Regions from separate parts of the Homo sapiens genome. Here region 1 is linked to region 2. Evidence: promoter capture Hi-C in human tissues and cell types (Jung and others, 2019). All regions are on one chromosome and are shown on one strand. Each heading gives the region's core, a stretch centred on a gene start or on the middle of the fragment in contact. The rest is flanking DNA. Distances are from core to core; before and after follow the strand shown.

The links. The method cuts DNA at HindIII sites, captures the fragments that hold promoters and counts their contacts. A contact is called where the count stands out against the background at its distance.
Region 1: the fragment with the promoter of ZNF260 here is called in contact with the fragment with the promoter of ZNF607 in region 2 in 1 of the 25 tissues and cell types used here (dorsolateral prefrontal cortex).

Annotation. Positions count from the first base shown.
Region 1 is chr19:36,526,243-36,530,184 of GRCh38, forward strand. ZNF260 (zinc finger protein 260) reads right to left here and starts at 2,029. Exons shown (of 3, transcript NM_001166037.2): 1 at 1,977-2,029. RefSeq lists enhancers at 1,326-2,036, 1,777-2,406, 2,037-2,745, 2,557-2,756. The HindIII fragment of the contact is 10,038 bases long and covers 1-3,942 here.
Region 2 is chr19:37,718,103-37,722,146 of GRCh38, forward strand. ZNF607 (zinc finger protein 607) reads right to left here and starts at 1,659. Exons shown (of 5, transcript NM_032689.5): 1 at 1,167-1,659. RefSeq lists silencers at 1,161-1,250, 1,311-1,420. The HindIII fragment of the contact is 7,560 bases long and covers 1-4,044 here.

The sequences.
Region 1 (3,942 bases), core at 779-3,278, 1.2 Mb before region 2:
TATACTTCAAATATAAAGCCAGGCATGGTGGCTCACGCCTGTAATCCCAGCACTTTGGGAGGCTGAGGCAGGCTGACCACCTGAGGTCAGGAGTTCGAGACCAGGCTGGCCAAGATGGTGAAACCCTGTCTCTACTAAAAATAAAAAAATTAGCTGGGCATGGTGGCACACACCTGTACCTCAGCTACTTGGGAGGCTGAGGCAGGAGAATCGCTTGAACCCAGGAGGCAGAGGTGGCAGTGAGCCGAGATTGCACCACTGCACTCCAGTCTGGGTGACAGAGTGAGACTCCATCTCAAAAAAATAAAAATAAAGTGAATGGAAGTATATTTACATATAACCTATGCACATCCTCCCATATACTTTAAAATTATCTCCAGATTACTTATCATACGTAATACAACGTAAATGTCTGGTAAATAGTTGTTATACTGTATTGTTTAGGGAATCATGACAAGAAAAAAAAATCTGTACACGTACAGATACAACCATCGCAAGCTTAACAACAGTTATGATTCATGTTTGTTGAATCCGTGGAAGCAGAGCCTACAGACACAGAGGGCTGACTGTTCATTCACTGATTCAGCAAACATATACATTTATGATTATGTGTGCTGAGAAACCTTGGTTTACAATTTGTAATGGGATATAACAAATCAAAGGATCAAACTTACTTAGAAGCCTTCTCTAAGATGTAAGTGCCTTAGAACCTGGCTAGACAGTGCTATAAATTGCTGAAACAGGTACAGAGGGGAAATAGATGGAGGCAGACTGCAGGAAGAAGGAGCCCTTTAGACATAAAGAGCTTGAAGTTCCCTGTAACTTCCAGGTGGACTGCACATTGGGCAATTAGATAATATGGATTAGGAGCTCAGGACAAGCCTCCAGCAGAAACAGACATTTATTAGTCATCTGTATTAGATGAAGCCATGGATGGCAGTGTAATGTTGTTGCTGATAGGAGTACTTAGATGATCAAGGCCAGAAACTTAGAAACACCAATAGTTAGGGGAAAAGCAGAAACTAAGTCCTGTCTTCTTTGTATCTTTTACTTTTTCTGTATATTTCAAAACTATTAACCCTGTTACTTTTTTATTTTATTGAAAAATATGTTAAGAATAAGTGTGACAAGATACTTGAATATGTTGATATGTTAAGAATAAGTGTGACAAGATACTTGAAGATAGGATACTTCTATCTTTGTATACACAAGAAAAGAATTTCCCCTATATTTACAAAAGGCTGGGGAAACCCTGATTAAATTAGGAGTGAGATTGCTGCCCTCACTGACGAACTAGGGAGTTTCTTGACCTCTGCGCTAAAGGCAGGACAAGTAGCTTCCAAATTCTGTGCCGTCTGCGCTATTGGAAACTACCTCTTAAAGATATTCCTTAGTTCAGGGTTTCTCCAAGCAACTGCACCAAAGTTTCTCCAAAGTATTAAGAAAAGTCAATGCCTACTGGGTGTACAGGCACCCAGTAACAAGTTTTTCCGAAATCTTGCCTCTTTAAAAAAATAATGGAAAGGTAATGCTGATTTTGTTTTCTACTCCACAATAGGTCTGCTTTTATATAAAAAATCACCTTTAAAATTACTTATCCGCTCAATTCCTTAGCCTTTTCCGTTTCCTATTTTCCAGAAAACGCATCTTTATTATTTTAGAAATGAGAAAAGTGAGGCTTAGAGGTTACTACCTCACAAAGCCATCCGTCCATCCTCACAAACTTGGAACCAGTTTCTCACTAACTCTGCACCCTCAACACCCCCTCACACTCTCGGTCACCCACCCGCGAACCCACCCGAACTGTACCCCTGCCCCCAGCCACACAAGCTCGGATCACCGCACATCATAGAAGGCGATTCCTCCCCTCCATACTCCCAGCCCCGTCGCAGGCACTGCAAATCCTCCCCTCCAGCGTCCCTGGCCCGTTTCAGTGTCCAGAAACCCAAGTCCCACAGGGCCGAAACCCAACTCACCGGCAGACAAAGACGACCATGGCAAGTCGGAGATTCCGCGCCTGCGCACTCCTTCCGCGGGCAGCGCTCCCAGAGGTCTCCTGGGCTGGGCCAGGCCCCGACTCAGAACCGGACGGAATCGAGAGATCTTGGCCCGTCCTCCGTGCCACTCTTTTGAGGGTAGACTACATTTCCCAGAAGGTTCAGCGGTTTGAGTCAGCTTTTCGCGCGAACTTTTCCTCCGCCAGAGCTTGTGGGACTGTCTCCCTGGCCGGGGCAGGGGTGTAAGGCCTTAGTCTTAGTTTACTCTATCCCTGGGATTGGGTAGTGGTGTAACATCAGCTTAAACACGCTGTGCTGACTTTATGTAACAGCCACGGTGCGATACTAAGCCAGGAACCCCAGGAGACTCTCAGACACGGTTCGGGAATGAGGGTAATCCCTTTGGCTGGGCTCAAGCCGGGCGCCATCTTGCTCATCGCGGGCGTGGCGCTGAACTACATTTCCCAGAAGGCGCCGCGCCCTCGGCCCCTCCCCTCGCGACTCCCGCGGCTCGGGGGAGAGCTGCACGCGACCCAGGTGCTGGCCTCTGAGCGGGTCGGCTCGGAGACTACAGGATCAGGAGGAGGTTGGAGGTGAAGCGTCTGGAATCCGGTGCGGAGGTTGAGACTGAGTATTAAGTCTGTTCAGGCGGAACGCGCCGAGAAGGGCGGTTGTGAAATTGTGTTTTTGTGAATGTATGTCCTAGCACAGTGTGTGTGTGATTGTGATTGTGTGTGACACCTTGTGTACGGATGTGGGGAGGACTCTGCGGGTGTCCCGTGAGTCCCTGTGTTAGGACTGTTATTGTGTGACTGTGTAACGCTGTGTGAGGGTGTGGGTTAGCTGTGACTGTGTGCCCGCGGTGGGTGTGTGATTGTAACTCTGTGACCATATGTTCGTTTGTGTGCAGATATAGGGAGCTTTGTACTTATGTAGTTGTGACTCTGTGTCCTTGTGTGGGAGTATGGAGGGTGGGTGCTTGTGACTTTGTGTACAGTGGTGGGTGTGTGACTGTGAAGCATTGGGTGTGCGTGGAGTTGAGACTGTGTTTGTGTGTCTTTGACCAAATGTCACACATAGTCATATGTGAGAGCAGAAGACAGCTCGGCCCCGTGATAGTAAAGGGGATTTTTCTATGACACTGAGTTTTGAGTTGGAAGCCCCAGTTTCCTCTGATAGCCCTCCCATGGCGGGGGAGGGGAACGCAGAGTAAGCTCTGGCCTTGTCATTTGGGCCCTAGGGGAGGTGTATTGTCTCCCTTCTCATTTCTGTCCTCCAAGAGAGGTTCCCCAGAGGAGAGGAAATAACGGTTGTGATATCTAAAAGCCATGTTTAAGGTGCCTTGAAGTTTTCTCTTTGTTCCTGAAATGCTTTATTTTTCCAGGACCTGATTTTTTTTTTTTTTGAGATGGAGTCTCGCACTGTCGCCCGGGCTGGTGTGCAGTGGCGCGATCTCGGCTCACTGCAACCTCCGCCTCCCAGGTTCAAGCGATTCTCCTTCCTCAGCCTACCGAGTAGCTAGGATTACAGGTGCCGGCCACCACGCCCGGGTAATTTTTTTGTTGTTGTATTTTTAGTAGAGACGGGGCTTCACTATGTTGGCCTGGCTTGTCTTGAACTCCTAACCTTGTGAACCGTCCACCTCGGCCTCCCAAAGTGCTGGGATTACAGGCATGAGCCACTGCGCCCGGCTGATTTTTTTTTTCTTAGCAAATGCCTAAAAGGACTTATCAAGTAACCTGGAATCTTCTGTTACTCTTTGGAAAAATCTTCCTAATTTTGTCTTATTAATATAGCAAATGGTTCAGTTTATCATGTATGCTTAGTTTGGTTTTACCTATATACATATGTAGATATATATGCATATACATAAATATACATACACATATTTGTATATGCACATATTGAAATGTATCTCATGTTTTAAGTGATATTTTAACTTCCT
Region 2 (4,044 bases), core at 409-2,908:
GGACATCCTAGAAAAATGCAAATTAACAAACATGTACAGGAATTCTTTATAGAATTTCAGGGGGTTTGTGATGTCCCTTATGCCCATAAGGGCATTGGTCTACAGACAGTACACCAATGACCGAGAATTCCTATTTTGGAAAACTTAAATTCTGGCTCACTTCCTTCACATCACGGCTAAGTTCATATTCTTGTTGCTTTTGATCTACAGAAATCCAAAACGGAATATCCAAAATTGCCTCATAATACTTAGCGCTTATGTTTCCCCCCTCCAAGGCTGCAGGCGCGTAATTTCATACACACGACCAGAAGGAAGTATGTTGGATGGAACCTGCAATCATCCTTCACTGCAGGTTCTTGGGGTCAGAATTCAAGGCCGTGTTTGTTAAACATGTAAATGAAACTCCAAGAACCGGGAGGTGGGGGCGGAGTAACAACCCTTTTCAGGAGGGAATCCTACACTCGAAACTGACAAACCCTGCCAGACCAAATTTTAGTCAGGCTACTACACCTTCAGCTAGGCCCATCTGTACACTTCACTGTAAAATCTGGCTATAGCAAAGAACTATTCTAAGTCAGTTTAGCAAGACCCTTTCGCCTCCGTATCTTCATCCTCCACCGTCCCCCAGGTCTCTCTCTCCAGAAATAATCCTGTTAGGTGCGTTTAGTCAGAATCTTCCTTAACCCAGACATTTCCTCTTAGTAATTTCTCATCCAGTGATCCCTAACCTTCTTGGCTATAAATTCCCACTTGTTCATGCTGAATTCGGAGTTGAGCCCAATGTCTGTTACCCACTGCAAAATCTCACAGCCGGGATCCCAATACCTACCACCATGGTCCTGAATAAAGGGTTCTTTGCATGCTTTAACAAGTGTCACTGAATACTTTTTTATTTAACAGAATCTATCATACCTTTCTTAAGGGCAATTACTCTTCTAAGCTTCTCATCCTATCTGTTTCTTCTCACTGGAAATCTTCATCTAAGACTCAGTATCTGATTTCCCATTGGGACCATTTCTCTGTTGTAGTCGTACTAGGCTGAGGAAGGCACAGGAAGCAGCAGGGAACCTGGAGCCAAGGGTCAATAGACCCCACAGAGCCCAGCGAAGCACGCTTTACAAAGGACACACACGGCATGTACAGGTCACACAAGGTCGACTACGCACCCCTCACAGTCCCGCAACTGCACCCACGTCACACAGGCAAGCCGGTCCTGTCGCCGCTGCGCGGTCTCTCACGCTCCCCGCCTGTCTCCTAGAGACGGGCCCCTCCTCCGCAGCTCCAGCACCCTAGGGCCTGAGGAGGCGGGAGACTCGCCCGGCCCGCCTGGGGGCCTCCGCGCTCTGAGCGCCTCCTGCAGCCCCACTCTCACCGCCACGCAGGGTACCACGCGGGCGGCGGGCTGGGGCTGCAGAGGCTCCCGCAGTGACCTGCGCCGCCTTCTTCAGGTGGAACCAAAAGGTCCCGGAACCGGAGCCAGGGGTCCAAGTTTTCTCCGTTGCCTTTGTAATATGTAGTCCAAGCCAGAACAGTCAGGACCGCAGGTACCGGTGAGAAATGGAGTCCAGAATCCTAAAAACCTACGAGAAATACGGCAGCGACCACTTGGACCGCGCCTCCCACCCACCGCTCGAGCCCCGGAGACTTCTGGGAGTGGCCGCCTTGCCTCGAGTGCGCATGCGCAGATCGGCCACTACTGGGCCCCTGGCCTGAGGCTTAGGGTGGAGTTAGTGCGTTCTTAGGGCCAGTAGGAGGCGAGTCTGAGTAGAAACTGATCCAGGTAGCCTCGGAAGGGATCACCTGCTGGATGGGTGTGAGCTCCTCAGGGTGGGGCGCCGAAACCCTCATGGCTCCTGAGGTAGAGCCGGCCTCCTTGGTAACACATGGGACTGGGACTTTTAATACCACCCGACAGGCCCAGCTTGTCTCGTCAAGCGCTAAGTAAATGGACTCACGTCCTATATGAGGGTTTGAAGTTCCATCACATTCTTCAATACATGACATTATGTTCTTCATCTTTGGACACGAATATATTTGACTAAAAATTTGACTAAAAAATCATCTGAAGAAATAACTGCTAAATAGTTTTATTATTTTTGTTCTGGAATAGGCTTCTTGAAGATAAAATAAGAAATTTAAAAAATTTTTTTGATCCTTCATGTAATACTTTGTAAATCTTCATAGTTATTTAGAAGCATCCAAAATTTCCAAATGGTAAAAAACGAATAAGAAAAATTTTTAGGTAAGTAAATTTGGGGGAAATATTTACAACAGCTAAAACGGACAAATATTTAATAGTCCGAATTTCCTGTTTCTTTGGCTTAATAAAATATTGATGAATACAGGCTGGGCACGGTGGCTCACGCCTTTAATCCCAGCATTTTCGGAGGCCAAGGCAGGAGGATCAGTTGAGGCCAGAAGTTCAAAACCAGCCTAAGAAACATAGTGAGACACCCCTCTCCTCCTCCCAAACTCTACCAAAAATGAAAGTTAGCCTGGTGTGGTGGCACACGCCTGTGGGCCCAGCTATTCCAAAGACAAAGGTAGGAGGATCAGTTGAGCCCGGAAGTTCAGGCTTCAGTGAGGTATGATGGTGTCACCGCACTCTGGCCTGAGCAACAGAGCAAGACCTTGTCTCAAAAAATAAATAAGTAAAATTAATTTAAAAATAAAAAATATTTGTCTATACCCTAAGAGGAAAAGGAACAAAACTAAAAAATCACCATTCAAAAATACAAATAGTCAAGGAAAAAAAACTATTAAAGTTACAATTTAAGAACTTATTGATCACTTTTTCTTCTCTTAATTAGTTCTTGGATTTGTTGCTCCTGAATCTCCTGAATAATCTCTCAGAAATACCACACATAGATCAATGGATTAAATTGACTCCACATATTATTTTCTTTTTCTTTTTTCTCTTTTTGAGACGGAGTTTTGCTCTAGTTGCCCAGGCTGGAGTGCAATGGCACGATCTTGGCTCACTGCAACCTCCACCTCCCAGGTTCAAGCGATTTTCCTGCCTCAGCCTCCTGAGTAGCTGGAATTACAGGCATGCATCACCATGCCCAGCTAATTTTGTATTTTTAGTAGAGACAGGGTTTTACCATGTTGGTCAGGCTGGTCTCGAACTCCCAACCTCAGATGATCTGCCCGCCTTGGCCTCCCAAAGTGCTGGGATTATAGGCATGAGCTACTGCGCCCGGCTCCACATACTATTTTCAACAAGGATACCAAGGCATTTTAAGGAAGGGAAGAGTAGTCTTTGTTGAAAAGACTGGAATTAGAGATGCACATAGAAAGGAATGAATTGAGTTCCCTGCCTCTCACCATATACAAAATCAACTCAAAATGGATCAAACACCTAGGTGTAAGACTTAAAACAGTAGAACATTTAGAAGGAAATGTAGGCATAAATCTTCTGGACTTTATAGTCAGCAATTGTTTCTTAACCGTGACATCAGAATCACAAGCAACAACATCAAAAAAGGAAATTGGACATAAATTGTAAAACATTGTGCTTCAAAACCCACCAAGAATGTGAGAAGCTACCCAAAGAGTGAGAAAAATTGTTTGTAAATTATGTATCCAATAAGGGATTTGTATCTAGAATATATAAAGAAGTCTTGCAACTCAATAATAAAAAGCCCAACAAAAATGGGCAAAGTAACTGAATAAGCATTTCTCAAAAAAAAAAAAAAAGTATACACATGGCTACTAAATACTTGAAAACATGTTCTATATTAATCATTAAGAATATGCAAATCAGCCAGGAGCAGTGGCTCATGCCTGTAATCTCAGCACTTTGGGAGGTCGAGGCAGGAGGATTGCTTGAGCCTAGGAGTTCGAAACCAGCCTGGGAAACAAAGAAAAAGACTATGTAAATCAAAACCCCAAAACCCCAATGAGATATACTACTTAGGATGACTAAAATCAAATAAATATACAATAACAAATTTTGGATAGGATTTGGATAAATAGAACCCTATATACATTGATGGTGTCACTGGAAAATGGTAGAACTACTGTATAAACAGTCTGGCAGTT